Regions from separate parts of the Homo sapiens genome. Here region 2 is linked to region 1. Evidence: promoter capture Hi-C in 16 types of primary human blood cells and fetal thymus (Javierre and others, 2016). All regions are on one chromosome and are shown on one strand. Each heading gives the region's core, a stretch centred on a gene start or on the middle of the fragment in contact. The rest is flanking DNA. Distances are from core to core; before and after follow the strand shown.

Region 1 (2,700 bases), core at 78-2,577:
GTCCGGCTGTCGGCTCACCAGCCCCGAGAAGCCGGAGCCAAAGATGGAGATCAAGTTTGAGATGTTGGACGCGTCCGGGGACGAGTCCGGGCAGAAGTCCTCGAAGCGGGCGCGCTTGCAGGGGGCGAACGGGGCGCCCCCGGGGGGCTCGGCCCCCAGCCCGCCCGCATCCTCCTCGTCGTCTTCCTCCTCCTCCTGGCCAGGGTAATACTTGCGCTTGCAGCCGGCGGCGGACGCCAGGCCCGGTCCCGGAGCGCCCTGGCCACAGCAGGGGCAGTGGGCGGAGGCGCAGCAGTCCTGGTGCAAGTAGCCGTTCTCCACCGTGGTCACCACGTGAGTGTCTAGGTCCAGCACGGTGGTCTGGCTGCTGCAGTGCAAGCCGAAGTCCGAAGGGGTAGGGTATGCGCCCCGGTAGAAGCCGGGGGAGGAGGCGGGGGCCGGGGAGGCGGGCGGAGAAGCGGCGGCGGCCGGAGGGGCGGCCCCTGGGGGCGCGGAGCAGGCGGCCGGGGCGCGAGGGTCCCGCGGGCAGAGCGCAGCGGGCGCGGGCGGCGGCAGCGGCAGCGGCAGCGGCGCAGGACCCGGCTGCAGAGGCTCCAAGGGCTGCCCGCGGTGGGGCGCGCCGTGCGGCGGCTGGAGCGCGGCGCACCCGGGCAGCTCCGAGAGCGCCCCCGCGCCGCCCGCGGGCGCTCCGGCCGCCGCCGCCGCCGCGCAGCCCCTGGGCGCCGGGTGCTGGTGCTGGTGCAGCTGCTGCTGGAGGTGCAGCTGGTGGAGCTGGTGGAGCTGGTGCAGCTGGTGCCGGGCGGCCGGCTCGCGCGCCTCCGCGTCCCCGCCGCCGCCAAGTTGGAGCGGGCCGAAGTCGGCCGCGCTGGCCGGCATGCCCGGCGCCGCGTACGCTAGGTGCTGGTGCTGGTGGTGGGGCGGCTGCTGCTGTTGCTGCTGCTGCTGGCGCCGGTAGAGCTCGGCGTAGCGCTCGCTCAGGTAGAGCTGGCGCGCGTTGCGGAGCACGTAGGACACCAGGAGGTTCTTGTGCAGCTTGATGCCGCCGCGCTGGGTTCGGGAGCTGTGGATCTTGCGCAGGGAGATGCTGATCAGGCTCTGGGCGTCCAGGGCGCACTCCATGCTCCCGCGGAGACGGCGGCGGAGCAGCCGCCGCCGCTGCTGCTGTTAACGCTTCTGCTGTTTCTGCCTCCAGCCGGCCGCCGGGGCGCGCCGGGCAGGGGTAACGGAGTCCGGGTCAGAGGTTCGGCTGCGCTCCGAAAGGAGCCGCCACCATGCGCCGCGCGCCACCCGCGGGCTCGCGCTCCCCAGACGGCGCCAAAGCAATGAGTCTCGGCCGGCCCCGGCCCCAGCTATTTAGCCGGGTGCCCGGGCCCCGCCCCACATGAGAAGAGCCAATAGGAGCTCTGAGAGTCTCCTGAGTGACAGGCGCAGCCCGCCCCGGGGCTACTCGGCTGGCCAATCAGACCAAGGCGGTTCCTTTGTGCTATTCAAATACCGAACGGACCCCGGGCCTCCAACGCCGCTGCTGCCTCGAATGTTCTCCTGGGGCTGCCGCGCCGCGCGGGACTCGGAGCCGCCGGGGCCGCAGTCTGCAGCATAGGTCGCCTGGCAGCGGCCACGTTGAAGCCCGCGGCTGCCCTCGCCTTAGGTCCCGGGAGCCGGGGGTCGGCTCACCTGAGTGCTGCGGCGACGGCTCCTCCCCTTTCCGCACGGCTGGGCCTCACCTGCGGCAGGTGCGCGCCGCTCATCGCTCCCCCAGCGGCGCGGCGCCTCCACCTGCGCACCTGTCGCCCCCCCGAGTGACCCGCGGGAGTCAAGGCCTCTCTACAGGAGGCTGGTGGAGCCGCCGGCTTGACACTGGGGAACATCAAAGGAGCGAGGTTTTGGGGGTACCCTCTACCGCAGAGAATGTAGGGCCTGACTCCTTGACTTTTTGGTCGAGGGGCCTCTGGGAATGCTTGCGGAAGGGAAGTCCTCCCCATTTGTCTGACAGGAAAAACCAAAACATCGTGAATTTTGACCTTCTCTGATGGAGAGAGTTCCGAGGCCAGGCATGACCCAGGGAGTGTGTGGACCTCGCGACCAGCTGAGGCTCAAAAGCGTCCTGGGAGCCGAAACGCTGAGTGCCCTAATCACCAGCTCTGTAACCTTTCCTTTCGTGCCTAACTAATAATAATGACAATAGGGACTATTATTATGGGCCTAATATGGGGCAGGCCCTTCCCAGCAACTCCCCAATGCCTCACTCTAACGTTTGTAGAGGAGGGGCCTGAGGCTCGGAGGAGTGGAGTGACTTGGGGAACCACACAGTTCCCAGGGGGCGGAGCTAGGAGCTGGGACAGGACCCTGCGCTCGAGACGGGAGGTGAATACCAAAGGCCCGGGGACTCACCGACTTAACTTCTGTTGACACAGCTTTCCTTCTTATCCTGAACCCTTCAGGTCCCAGCTGGGGACTGAGACAGTGGGAGAAGAGAGGGACAGGATTGCTGATTCCTGGGGGCGCTCTATCTGGACCAAGAGGCCTGAAGGGGGCTGGTTGCTGCTCCCAGGGGTTTCAAAGGTGCCTGGGGTGGGGGCTGCCCAGACAGCTCTGGAGGCTCTTGGAAATGGTCTGGAGGTTTGCCTGAGGAGGGTCCATGAGTGGATCCCTGAAGGATGAACGAGGTCTGCAGAGTCTCCCAGAGATAGGTGGACCTTG
Region 2 (2,700 bases), core at 48-2,547, 600 kb after region 1:
GCAAGAAAGAAAGAAAAGAAAGAGAGAAAGAGAGACAGAGAGAAAGAAAGAAAGGAAGAAAAAAGAAAGAAAGAAAGAAACAAAGAAACAAACAAACAAAGAAGGAAGGAAAGAAACAAAGAAAGAAAGAAACCAACAAAGAAAGAAAGAAAGAAGGAAGGAAGGAAAGAAAGAAAGAAACAAAGAAAGAAAGAAAGAAAGAAAGAAAGAAAGAAAGAAAGAAAGGAAGGAAGGAAGGGGAGAGAGAAGGAAGGGAGGGAGGGAGGGAGGGAGGGAGGAAGGAAGAAAGGGAGGGAAGGATGGGTTTGTCTCTCAACGTAAGAACCAAAATGAAGACATGTGTGTCTACCAGGTGAGGAGAGAAGTACGGAGAAGAAAGGGGAGGGTTGGTGGGTCCCCCAGGAGCCTGGTTGGCTGGTTGGAAACCAGAGGGTGTACTGGACAAGGCCCAGAATGCGGACCTGCCTGGGCCCCAATAAGGGGTCCCTCCCCATCCACAGGTAGACGCATCGCCCCGAGGTAGACACATGTCCCCTAGGGAAGAAGCCTTCGGCTACTCCTCACGTGCAAGTCACATGCTCCTCTCCCTGCTGGCACCACCATGGCCACAGCTGATGGGCAGGGGTGAGCACCTGGCTGCAAGCAGCCAATGGCGAGGCCAGCCAGCAGCCAATGAAATCAACAGCCCGATGTGGGCCTGGGCTGAGACCCACCCCCCAGAGGAGGCTGGGCTCGTGGCCAAGGACTCGGCTGCCAGCAGCAGGAGCGGCCACAAGAATGTGTACCCCTGGGGATGACAAGAAGCCCCTACAGTGAAATCCACTTCGGCTCTTCACGGGCCCTGGGGTCTTCACCTGGGTCCTGTGCCCACGAGGTCTTGGGCCCCAGCATCCTCACAGTAAACCCCTTTATCCCGGGGTCCTCAGTGCACGTCTGGCCCAGCAACGGCAATGAAACCAACAAACTGCCACACACTAGAGCTGGGTCCTGCGGCTCTGCCACCTGCTCTGTCAAACGCTGGGGTCCCCAGAAGCCACGGCCCCTGCCAAAGGTCATTTTGGGTCTCATTTGTCATCTGGGTACTTAGGGTAAAACGATATTTTCTGTGCAAGCCCCTCATTGCTTCCCTGTCTCTCCCATCCCCTAACTCCACCACCATGAAGGCCTCCCTGCTCTCACCCACTCCAAGAGCTGGATTTTCCCTGGCACAGAGAGCATAGCACCGACCCAGACAAGCCCTTTGCCACATGCGTCCTGCCAGGCATGATTCTGGCCACAAGGATGCATCAACTGCCACTGGAGCTGTGGGTGTGTTGTCACTGTGAAGCACATTGCAGCAGCAGCTGAGAGGAGAGACCAACCAGCACCCTGGGGAGGGGGCTGCATGCAGAGGTTGGGAAGTCACACTTTGGCTTCAAGCCAAGCAGAAGATCTGGCCCAAGAAAACAGGCTCATACCTCCTGGACAGGGTGGCCAAGAGACAGAGCTTCAGCTCAGGCTGGGACGCCAGTTGGGCAATAAAATTAATGACAATAATTATTATTATATAACAATGTTGATGACATTACTGGCCAACTTTACCTGCCAGACACTATGCTTGGTGCTTTATGTAGATCAGTTCATTGCCCTCATGTAGCAATCCTAGGAGGTGGGTCTATTATTATCTCTATTTTATTTTATTTTATTTTATATTTTTTAGAGGCAGAGTCTTGCTCTGTCACCCAGGCTGGAGTGCAATGGTGTGATCTTGGCTCACTGCAACCTCTGGCTCCCAGTCTCAAGCAATTCTCCTGCCTCAGCCTCCCGAGTAGCTGGGACTTCAGGTGCGTGCCACCACACCTGGCTAATTTTTTTTGTATTTTTTAGTAGAGACAGGGTTTCACCATGTTTGCCAGGCTGGTTTTGAACTCCTGACCTCAGGTGATCCACCTGCCTTGGCCTCCCAAAGTGCTGGGATTACAGGCATGAGCTACCTCGCCCGGCCTAATATCCCCATTTTAGAGATGAGAAAATTGAGGTTCAGAGGAGTGACATGACTTAACCAATGTCTGTGCTAAACTACAGTAAGATAGATAGATAGATAGATAGATAGATAGATAGATAGATAGATAGATAGATAGATAGATACCTATGTCTAACTACCTACCTACCTACCTATTGACCTATCTACCTACCTACCAACCTGCCTATCTCTCTATCTATGTGATATATATGAAAAAGACTCTTCAGAGAACTGACTCTGCTGATGCCCAGAATAGGGTGCGGGAGACTCATCAAGCTGATCTCCCATGCTGGGCCCAGCTGGATGTTCTGACTTTACCCAGAGTATCCAGATTTCAATTAACTATCTCGGAACCACAGTAAAGGAGCGTGTGCGCTATAGTTGATTGCTCAGCCCGAGCACAGGGCTGGGTAATCTTACTCCCAGAGGGTTCTGAGGTTGGAGCCTGGAATGGACCAGCTCTCTCCCTTGCCATTCAGCCCCACCCCCACCCCTGGAGCCAGGGACTCAAGCAGCCCAGCTTGACAGTCCTGGGAGGCCTGACCCCCGGCTGGGATCTCGTCATCAGCAATGCACCCAGGCTCTGGGGACAGCATGGTCTAGGGCCTCTGAATTGGCCATTATCCTAGCGGGAAGAAATGCTTCTCCCTCCAGGCTGAAAGCTGTCTTTGCTCCCAGTGATCACTTGCTCCCCAGCT

Evidence for each region. The method cuts DNA at HindIII sites, captures the fragments that hold promoters and counts their contacts. A CHiCAGO score of 5 or more calls a contact.
Region 2: a fragment that was not itself captured here is called in contact with the fragment with the promoter of IER5L in region 1 in 1 of 17 cell types (M0 macrophages); the score reaches 5.0 in M0 macrophages.

The regions. Positions count from the first base shown.
Region 1 is chr9:129,176,934-129,179,633 of GRCh38, forward strand. IER5L (immediate early response 5 like) reads right to left here and starts at 1,328. Exons shown (of 1, transcript NM_203434.3): 1 at 1-1,328. The coding sequence starts at 1,119. RefSeq lists silencers at 583-922, 1,153-1,532 and enhancers at 1,257-1,551, 1,289-2,212, 2,213-2,700. The HindIII fragment of the contact is 12,631 bases long and covers 1-2,700 here.
Region 2 is chr9:129,774,304-129,777,003 of GRCh38, forward strand. No RefSeq gene overlaps it. Among named protein-coding and RNA genes, the nearest start is that of PTGES, 23 kb to the left of the region's middle. RefSeq lists an enhancer at 763-1,329. The HindIII fragment of the contact is 3,905 bases long and covers 1-2,700 here.